Regions from separate parts of the Homo sapiens genome. Here region 2 is linked to region 1. The links are contacts of gene promoters, found by promoter capture Hi-C in human tissues and cell types (Jung and others, 2019). All regions are on one chromosome and are shown on one strand. Each heading gives the region's core, a stretch centred on a gene start or on the middle of the fragment in contact. The rest is flanking DNA. Distances are from core to core; before and after follow the strand shown.

Region 1 (5,162 bases), core at 1,924-4,423:
CTCGCCGCAGATCTGTCCTACACAGGGTTCCAGAGGAGTCATCCTAACACCATCTGACCCTGTCCCTCTCATGCTCAAAACATATTTGTAGCCTTCATCACCTTCATGACATGGATACTGCTGAGTTCTCCAGACACTTCACTCCAGAGTGCAGCTATTGTGAGAAATGACTCTTTGTTCCCCAAATAAGCCTCAGAATCTGGATATGGGGCCTGAATCTGGATATGGGGCCTCAACACATGCTCCAACTTGGACTAGAATGTCCTTCTCTCTGGTCTCAGTTAACTCTGTCCCTCAGGTCTCAGTGCAGAAGTCACCTCCACCACGAAGCCTCCTCTGTCTGACCCTCTGTTTTAAACTTTTTCCTACTGTAAATATGTCCCATTTTCTGAAAAAAATCAGCATATTTTAAAGTATTCTGGCACAAAGCTGGTTTTCAGCTTTCAGAGCCATTTATTTATTTATCTATTTATTGGAGACAGAGTCTCGCTCTGTCACCCAGGCTGGAGTGCAGTGGCGCGATCACAGCTCACTGCAGCCTCCACCTCCCGGTTTCAGTGCCTCAGCCTCTCGAGTAGCTGGGATTATACCACACCACCATGGCTGGCTTTTGTATTTTTAGTAGAGACAGGGTTTCATCATGTTGCCCAGGCTAGTCTTGAATTCATGACCTCAGGCAATCTGTCCACCTCAGCCTCCCAAGTGCTAGGATTACAGGCGTGAGCCACCGCACCCGGCCCAGAGCCAAATATTTATATGTTTCTGTAGGTTTCTATACAGTGGGATGCCTTTTCTGTGCTCCTATGAGACCCTGTAGTATGGCACATATTACCCTGTGTGGTGAGTGTCTGTGTCAGTGCCTGACTCTCCCACCAGACTGGGAAGTTCTTGGGAATAGCAACTAGTTCTGTTCCATCTCTGGGTCCCCAGAGTCCAGTTGAGGGCTAGACACACAGGGAGGATGAGCCAGTAAGGTGGGTTCCTATAGGACAGAAGGGAGCAGGGACTGGGACCAGCTGGGCCATTGAGAGGAGCAGGGTGCGGGAAGGGGCCAGGTGGAGGGGCTGGGCTGGGCCACACCTTGTCTATGTAACTCTGGCCCAGCCCCTTCACTTCCTGAAGGTGGACCTGGGCTTGGGCCTGGCTCTTCTTGCCTGTCCGCCTCCGACAGCTCTTCCGGTAGAGACAGAAACAGCAGCTGAAGATGAGGAGGCCTGAGACCAGCACGATGGTGGCCAGGGCCCAGGGGGGCACTGCAGAGGGGTGGAGACAACACACATTGAGGCCTGGGCAGCACGCAGGCTGATTCAGTCCTGATTACACGTGGAAGCTGGAATGCTGGCCTCCTTTTCCCTCCAGCCATTTTCATTGCATTTCTTCCTGTGTTTTTCTTCCACCTAATGTGGCCTATAGAGAGATTCGATGCCCCAACCCAGGCTGACACCATCTGGATTTGCTTGCTTGTTAGTTCTGCCTTTCCTTACCCGACCCCGCCCCCCATTTCTGCTCAACTCCTGATGCTTTTACAAGAAGCCCTGCTCCTCATCGGGCCTGTTTCCTTATCTGTAAAAGAAGAGCTAGGTGGACCTTCCAATTCTAAGATCCCATTCCATGCAACACCCCTTGATCCGGTTTCGATTTTTTTTTTTTTTTTTTTTTTTTTTTTTTTGCAAATCTGTTCCTTCCTTTTACCCCATTTCGTTCGCATTCCAGTCCAGGATGACGACCCGGGATCCCAGCCGGATTTTCCAGCCCGCCTGCCCGAGTACACCCGTCCGAATCCCGCCCCTCGGAATCCTGGCCAGGCTTTCTCTCTGCTCGGCCCCCCACCCCCGGGTCTTGCTCACCTGGGCCGTGGCTGATGCGACTGGAGTCGGGAGGCGTGTCGGGCGATGGAGGCCCCGGGGTTGGGGGCTCCGGGAACATGGTGGCGGGGTCCTGGAGTCTTTTCTGCAGAGACACTCAAGCACCCTAGTCCCCCATTCCCACCCCAGACGTCCTTTGAGCCCCACGCACAACAAAGAACTCCAACTCCCATGAGGCCTTTGCGCGAACAGCCGCGCAGAAACCGGACAGCCACCGCGAGTCATGCTGGGAGTTGTAGTATCAGCCTCCCCGCACTTGAGAGGGGGTGTCCAGGACCTAGTTCCATCCTAAAGGGATACCCTCTTCCTCCACGGCCCCACAGGCATCCCGCTGACTTCTGCCTCGTCCTCGCCCCTCCGCAGGGTCTGAACCGGAAGCGGGCGAAGGCAGACGTGGGAACCAGCAGACCGCGTTGCCCAGAGCAACAGCCGGGCTCCTCTCAAGCGGGGTGAGAGCAAAGCTGGTTGCCCGGGCAACGGGTTGTTGCCAGGACAACGGGCGGGGCTGACGCACAGACGCGGAGTCCCGGCGGGGCAGGCTCGCTCCGGGGCCCACCGGTGCCTGGGAACCCCCCAATAGCCCGACTGGGATCCTGAGGTCCCGCGAGGTGGGGAGCGGGCAGCCTGTGGTCCGAGCGCCCACAGCCGACTGCTCCCTCCGCACCTGGTCCTGGGAGCTGAGACGCAGGTTCCCTCTTCCCTCTCCCCAATTTTGCTGGAGGGCGGGTCGGGGGCTGCCCGGTGCCTGTGCTGAGCCCCCTCATCCTTCTTGGCCTGTTGGTCTCTCCACGCATCCGTGCTGCTCTCGTGACCGCCTCGGTCTCCACGCTGCCTCTTGACCCCACATAGGCGTCTTCCCTGTGTCTGCCTCCCCAACCCGCCTGTCTCTCTTCCCTATCGCCTGGCCTCTGTCTCCAGGGTCTCTCCCTCTCCCCTCCGCCTGCGCCCCACTCCCCGCCCTCGGCTCTTTGTCTTCTCCATACCTGTCTCGCGTCCCCAGATCCCTGTCTCTCCGCTTCAGGCTGCTGCCCTCCCTCTGGTTGTCTCCCCAGTGCCCCAGCCCCCACTCGCACACCCCTTTCCTCTAGGGATGCGGATGCGGATGGGCTGAGGGCGGGGGTCCCAGCAGCTCCTACCTGCTCGGCGGCTGGACGGGACACTCCCGGGAGACGCCGAGGCGCCAGCCCCGCCCGGACCCCACCCCCTGCACGTGGGCGGTGGCGCTGTCCCGGGTGCTGATCGCGGAGCTCTCCGGGGCGGGGGAGCCGCGGAGCGGAGCAGGATCCCGTGCGCGCGTGTGTGCCCGTGTGCGTGTGCGCGCGTGTGTGGTGTGTATTGTGTGTGCCCGTATTTGGTCTCGGGTAGGCGGAAAGCCCTGCCCCGCCCCTCCTCCCGCCTCCACCCGGGAACCTCGATGACGCCCACAGATGTTTATCCTGGTGCTTTAGCATTTTCTGCCTTCTGGTCCAGTCGTTGGCCGTCCAGACCACTCCACTCCTCCCGCCCCAACACACACGACACACACCCTGTATAGCCCAAAGAACGGCATGCCAGGATACTCAGTCCTAGGACCTAGGAGACCCCAGACCCCCATTGGAGACCCAGACTCTGCAGGGTTCAGCATCAAAGTCCCCAGCTATCAGCCCCCAGACATCGCCCTCTAAGTTCCCCTAACACCAGTCCCAGGAGGCGGCCAGTGCGGTGGCTCATACCTGTAACCTCAGCACTTTGGGAGGCCGAAGCAGGAGGAATGCTTGAGCCCAGGAGCTGGAGACCAGCCTGGGCAACATAGCAAAATCCCGTCTCTACAAAAATGAGCCAGCGTGGTGGTGCGCACTTGTGATGGCAGCTACTCTAGAGGCTGAGGTGGGAAGATCACCTGGGCCCAGGAGGTCAAGGCTGCAGTGAGCCACTGCACTCCAGTCTGGGCAACAGAGCAAGACCATGTCTCAAAAACAAAAACAAAAACAGAACAAAACAACAACAACAACAACAGAGAAGAGTAAAAGAAAAGCTCAGAAGGCAAGTCCCCAAGCACCTAGCTCCAGCGAGCCCTGTCCATACTGCCCAGACCCTGGACACAGACGTCTGGACACTGCCTTCTCTGAGAGACTCAACCACCCAAACCTACATTTTTTCATGTGCAAATGTGTGGGTCCCTCTAGTCCCCTCCTGGACGTTCGCCTCGATCCCTAGATACCAGGAACCCATCCCTACTCCCAATCCAATATTATTTCCAGACCCAGAAATCCATGGGACAACTGTCTCTGGGGAGAACAGTGATTTAATAAATTATGGGATAGAAGGAAAAATACATGTGGATGGTGGGGTGCAGAGAGACCTTGGGCACAGGGACTCCCTCCGACCCCAGATTATAGAAGACTGATTTGGTTTCTGAAGTAAAATCAAGGCAGGATCCTTCCTGCCTTTGGTCCTCAAGTAGCCAGAACTCCAGACCCAAATTCCTTCCTGCCTCAGAATCCAGGCCCCAGCCTGTTTCTTTCTGCATCCTGGAAAGACCTAGGGAATCCAAGCTATCATCCCTCTCCTCCTTCAGGGAACCAGGAATCCAGATCCCCAGCTCCCATAGGACTCATCTGAAGCCCACCAGACCACTCTCTCCTGGGGAAACCAGAGTTTGGGATACCAGCCCCCTCCTCCCACAGCACCCAGGAGTCTGGGAGCCCAGCCCTCTGCTCTTCCAGGAATCTGGGCTCAAGTGGGTGTCCAGAGCTTGAGGATGCCTGGGCTGCCGACCCAGCCCCCTCGTCACTTAGACCTCCAACTTGTGGGCCTGGATGGCGGCCACGTTCTCGTAGATGAGGTTTTCGACATCCTCATACGGGACTTCCTTCTCGGCTGGGGCCTGGGCTGACTGTTGGAGGAACCGCAGGATGCACTGATGCAGGAATACGTACTGAGCCTGGGAAGCAGGCACGGGAGTGAGAGGCGTCCCCCCAGGTCTGAGCTGCGTGGAGCCCCAGGGTCCCTCGTCCCACTGCCTCCCGTCCTGTGTTGCTGAGGGACTGCCTCACCTCAGTCTGCACCATCAACGGCCGACTCTCTCTCATCTTCCTTACAAAGCTGAAGGGCCCAAGGAGACCCTCGGACTGCAGCTGCCGGAGCAGGACGTCCAGGGCAATGAGGGTTCCTGTGCGACCCACGCCAGCACTAGGCAGAACAAGGGAAGGGTCAGACCAAGGGGCAGGAGTGTGAGGGTCCGGGGTCATGGCTGATTGGAGGGATCTGTGTTTGAATGATGACAATAACTATGCCTGCTCACACCTGTAATCCCAG
Region 2 (5,162 bases), core at 1,519-4,018, 150 kb after region 1:
CACAATCTTGGCTCACTGGGACCTCCACCTCCTGGGTTCAAGTGATTCTCATGCCTCAGCCTCCCAAGTAGCTGGGATTACAGGTGCCCGCCACTATGCCTGGCTAATTTTTGCATTTTTTGATAAAGACAGAGTTTCACCATGTTGGCCAGGCTGGCCTCAAAATGCTGACCTCAAGTGATCCCCCTGCCTCAGCCTCCCAAAGTGCTGGGATTACAGGCGGAAGCCATCGCGCCCAACCCGTCTGGTGTATTTTATGCTCAGTGTAATGTTTTTGAGATTCATCCATGTTGTGGCATGTATTAGTGTTTCATTCCTTTATTTTTTATTTTTATTTTTTAAACAGCCAGGGTCGGCTGGGCAAGGTGGCTGACGCCTGTAGTCCCAGCACTTTGGGAGGCTGAGGCAGGTGGATCACCTGAGGTCAGGAGATCGAGACCAGCCTGGCCAACATGGTGAAAACCTGTCTCTACTAAAAATACAAAAAAAAATTAGCTGGGTGGCCGGGCATGGTGGCTCACGCCTGCAATCCCAGCACTTTGGGAGGCCGAGGTGGGCAGATCATGAGATCAGGAGTTTGAGACCAGCCTGGCCAACATAGTGAAACCCCGTCTCTACTAAAAATACAAAAATTAGCCGGGTGTGGTGGCAGGCACCTGTAATCCCAGCTACTCGGGAGGCTGAGGCAGGAGAATCGCTTGAACCCAGGAGGCGGAGGTTGCAGTGAGCCGAGATCGCACCACTGCATTCCAGCCTGGGCGACAGAGTGAGACTCCGTCTCCAAAAATAAATAAAATAAAATAAATAAATAAAATAAAAAATAAATCCTGTCCCAGTGGGGCTGATAGAGGGCAAAGCTCTCCAAGTCCTCCTCACCCCTTCTGCTGCCAAATGCCTCTCCTCTGGGTCTCGTCTTCCTCCTTTCGCTTCTTTTTCCGGAGGTCTCCGTTTGCCCAGACATGAATCTGAGCCACCCCCTGCCCTCAGGGGAATCCCTGTCTGTGGGCAACACAGATGATCAGCAGGTGACAGCTCCTCTAAAGGAAGTCACACAAAGCTATGAGGGAGCCCAGGGGAGGGAGGGGTCCATGCTACCTGCTCCTCCGTCGGCCCTCAACACTGATCTCCTGCCCTGCCCTGTCCTGTGTTTGCCACCTGGCTGATTCCCACTTCTCTTCCAAAAACATAATAATAATAAAGACGAGAAAGCCCAGGTGATCCTAAGGAAGACTTGTCCCCGCTCTGAGCCTCCATACCCAACTCGGTGTCCTGGCACAAAGATGAGTTTGGCTCACTGGTGTCCCCACGGTGCTTATGTGACCTGCTTGGACCCTCCCTGGGAGGACAGGGGACAGGGCTCCAGCCTGCCGAGCTACTTTCAAGTTGGGAATTAGGCCCCACTCACCGGCCACGGGTAGGTTGGGTGTCTGGAGCCTGAAGGATCCTTCCAGAAGCTAGGGCTGCTGGCCTGGCTCAGCCGAGGGGAAGAGGCTGTGCTTTTCCTCTGAGAAAGATGACGTTGCACTTTCATATTGAGGAAACCGCTTGTGGTTGGTGGTGGGGACTGGTTTTTATTTTTATTTTTATTTTTTTATTTTATTTTTTATTTTTGAGACGGAGTTTCGCTCTTGTTGCCCAGGCTGGAGTGCAATGGCGCGATCTCAGCTGACCGCAACCTCTGCCCCCGGGTTCAAGCGATTCTCCTGCTCAGCCTCCCAAGTAGCTGGAATTACAGTCATGCACCACCACACCCGGCTAATTTTGTATTTTTTTAGTAGAAACAGGGTTTCTCCATGTCGGTCAGGCTAGTCCCAAACTCCTGACATCCGGTGTTCCACCCGCCTCGGCCTCCCAAGTGCTAGGATTACAGGCGTGAGCCACCGCGGCCGGCCTATTTTTATTTTTATATCCCTAGATGTCTATGTCCCCTGCCTGGAAGTTTCCCCAGAGAGGGGATGTAGACGTCTAGGAACACAGAGGTCTCAGAACCTTCCCCAGGGAGGGGATGTACACCTCTAGAGATAGATGGGTCTCGGACCTCTGTTTTCTTGTCTGCAAAACAGGGATCATGATGGTCTGCCCTCGTGCAATTGTGAGGGTTTATTGGGGTTATCCACATAAGACCCTAAAAGAATGCCTGTCTGACCGGGCCCGGTGGCTCACGCCTGTAATCCCAGCATTTTGGGAGGCTGAGGCGGGTGGATCACCTGAGGTCATGAGTTCGAGACCAGCCTGGCCAATATGGCGAAACCCCGTTTCTACTAAAAATACAAAAATTAGCTGGGCATGGTGGCGGGCGCCTGTAATCCCAGCTACTCAAGAGGCTGAGGCCGGAGAATCGCTTGAATCCAGGAAGTGGAGGTTGCAGTGAGTCGAGATTGTGCCACTACACTCCAGCCCGGACGACAAGAGCGAAACTCCCTCTCAAAAAAACAAAAAAGAAAGAAAGAAAAGAAAAGCAAGAGATTGACTGGGGATGAGGTTGCTGAAGGATAAAGGAGGAGAAAGGCCAGGCGCGGTGGCTTAAGCCTGTAATCCCAGCACTTTGGGAGGCCAAGGCAGGCGGATCACGAGGTCAGGAGTTCAAGACCAGCCTGGCCAATATGGTGAAACCCCGTCTCTACTAAAAATACAAAAAAAAAAAGAAAAAAAGAAAAAGGAGGAGAAAGACCAGGAGTGGCTGGGAGAGACTTCAGACTGCAACGTGAGTGGGTCTGGGTCTGACACTGGAGAAAGGAGATGGGGAGAGTGGAAGAATCACAGACCATGTGCAGTTCTGAGAACCCCGGTCAGGTCAGCTGGGAAATGTGGTGCAAAGATCACCCATACGCAAGTCCATGGAGACCGAAAGCAAGTCAGTGGTTGCAAGGGGTGGGAAGAGGGGAGGATGGGAAATGATTGCTTATTTGGAGTTTCCTTATGGGGGTTATGAAACTGTTTTGGAACTAGATAGAGACGAAGGTTGCACAACATTGGGACTGTGCTAGACGACACCGAATTATACTTTAAAATGCTTAGAGTGGGCCGGGCGCCGTGGCTCACGCCTGTCATCCCAGCACTTTGGGAGGCCGAGGCGGGCGGATCACGAGGTCAGGAGATCAACACCATCCTGGCTAACATGGTGAAACCCCATCTCTACTAAAAATACAAAAAAATTAGCCGGGCGTGGTGGCGGGCGCCTGTGGTCCCAGCTACCCGGGAGGTTGAGGCAGGAGAACGGCGGGAACCCGGGAGGCGGCAGTTGCAGTGAGCCGAGATCGCGTCGCCGCACTCCAGCCTGGGCGACAGAGCGAGACTCCGTCCCAAAAAATAAATAAATAAATACATAAATAAATAAATAAATAAATAATTTAAAAATTAAATTTAACTTTTTTTTTTTTTTTTTGAGACGGAGTCTCGCTCTTTGGCCCAGGCTGGAGTGCAGTGACGCGATCTCGGCTCACTGCAAGCTCCGCCTCCCGGGTTCAAAGGATTCTCCTGCCTCAGCCTCCCGAGTAGCTGGGACTAAAGGCGCCCGCCACCACGCCCGGCTAATTTTTTTTTTTTTTTTTTTGTATGTTTAGTAGAGATGAGGTTCCACTGTGTTATTCAGGATGGTCTTGATCTCCTGACCTCGTGATCCGCCCGCCTCGGCCTCCCAAAGTGTTGGGATTACAGGTGAGAGCCACCGCGCCTGGCCAAAAAGTTAAATTTAATAAATAAATAAATAAACACTTTAGCACATTGACTTTAGAGGTGTCCACATTGGGCAGAAACGGCCAGGCTCTGCTCCCCACCCCATGCTTAGTCATCGGTCAAGGCTGCATAAAAAGAATGTAATAGCAATCCAAATCAAACACTGCTGAAGGTGCTACTGCTGGAGGCTGGAGACCAGCTGAAGTCCTCCCTGCTAATCAAGTTCTTTCAGGAAGGGTGAGCCACCTGGCTACCGTACTTGCCCAATGTCACTCAGCTACCGAGTGGAGCAGCTTGGGTCTGTCTGGCTGTAAAGTTTGGTTCCTTCCTATGTGCCATGCAATGCCCTTGAATATCCCTCCTTATCTTCACCCATCCAACCTTCTCCTGAAACATCCATTTATCTGTGCATATGTTCATGCCTTTGTGCATTCCTCCAGCTAGTTATTTCTCCACTCATCCACCCACCTGCCTATCCGGCCAGCCATTTGCTCATATGTTCTTTTTTTTTTTTTTTTTTGAGATGGACTTTTGCTCTTGTTGCCCAGGCTGGAGTGCAGTGGCGCGATCTCGGCTCACTACAACCTCTGCCTCCCGGGTTCTAGCAATTCTCCTGCCTCAGCCTCCCGAGTAGCTGGGGTTACAGGCACCTGCCACCATTCTACCTAGAAGTAGAATTACTGGGTTGTATAGTAACATTTTTAGGAACTGCTAAACTACTTTCCGCCATGTGTACACGATTTACACCATTTTACATTCCTGACAGCAGTGCATGAGGGTTTCAATCTCTCCACACCGGCAACAGTGCCTGCTATTATCGGTCTTTTTAAAATTACATTACAATCTTTTTTAGGGATGAGATCTGGCTTTGTTGCTGAGGCCAGAGTTCAGTGGCTATTCACAGGTAGTGTCATAGCACACTACAGCCTCGAACTCCCGGCCTCAAGAGATCCCTTTGCCTGGCCAGGAGTCATGCCTGTAATCCCAGCACTTTGGGAGGCTGAGGCAGGCGGATCACTTGAGGTCAGGAGTTGGAGACTAGCCTGACCAACATGGCGAAACCCCGTCTATACTAAAAAAAAAGAAAAATTAGCTGGGCATGGTGGCACACGCCTGTAATCCGAGCTACTCGGGAGGCTGAGGCAGGAGAATGGCTTGAACCTGTGAGGCGGAAGTTGCAGTGAGCCGAGACTGCGCCATTGCACTCCAGCCTGGGTGACAGAGCAACACTTCATCTCAAAAAAAAAAAAAAAGAGAGAGAGATCCTCATGCCTCAGCCTCCTGGCCTCAAGAGATCCTCCTGCCTCAGCCTCCTGGCCTCAAGAGATCCTCCTGCCTCAGCCTCCTGGCCTCAAGAGATCCTCCTGCCTCAGCCTCCTGGCCTCAAGAGATCCTCCTGCCTCAGCCTCCTGGCCTCAAGAGATCCTCCTGCCTCAGCCTCCCAGGTAGCTGGAATTACAGGCCTGTGCCACCGTCCCCCATTTGAT

The links. The method cuts DNA at HindIII sites, captures the fragments that hold promoters and counts their contacts. A contact is called where the count stands out against the background at its distance.
Region 2: a fragment that was not itself captured here is called in contact with the fragment with the promoter of SYT5 in region 1 in 1 of the 25 tissues and cell types used here (dorsolateral prefrontal cortex).

The regions. Positions count from the first base shown.
Region 1 is chr19:55,177,116-55,182,277 of GRCh38, forward strand. SYT5 (synaptotagmin 5) reads right to left here and starts at 3,174. Exons shown (of 9, transcript NM_003180.3): 1 at 3,002-3,174; 2 at 1,848-1,971; 3 at 1,081-1,253. The coding sequence starts at 1,926. It overlaps PTPRH (protein tyrosine phosphatase receptor type H), which reads right to left. Exons shown (of 20, transcript NM_002842.5): 19 at 4,901-5,036; 20 at 4,132-4,788. The coding sequence ends at 4,639. RefSeq lists an enhancer at 2,640-2,719 and silencers at 2,707-3,119, 3,000-3,189. The HindIII fragment of the contact is 16,640 bases long and covers 1-5,162 here.
Region 2 is chr19:55,323,867-55,329,028 of GRCh38, forward strand. TMEM150B (transmembrane protein 150B) reads right to left here and starts at 1,475. Exons shown (of 8, transcript NM_001282011.2): 1 at 1,406-1,475. The HindIII fragment of the contact is 8,762 bases long and covers 1-5,162 here.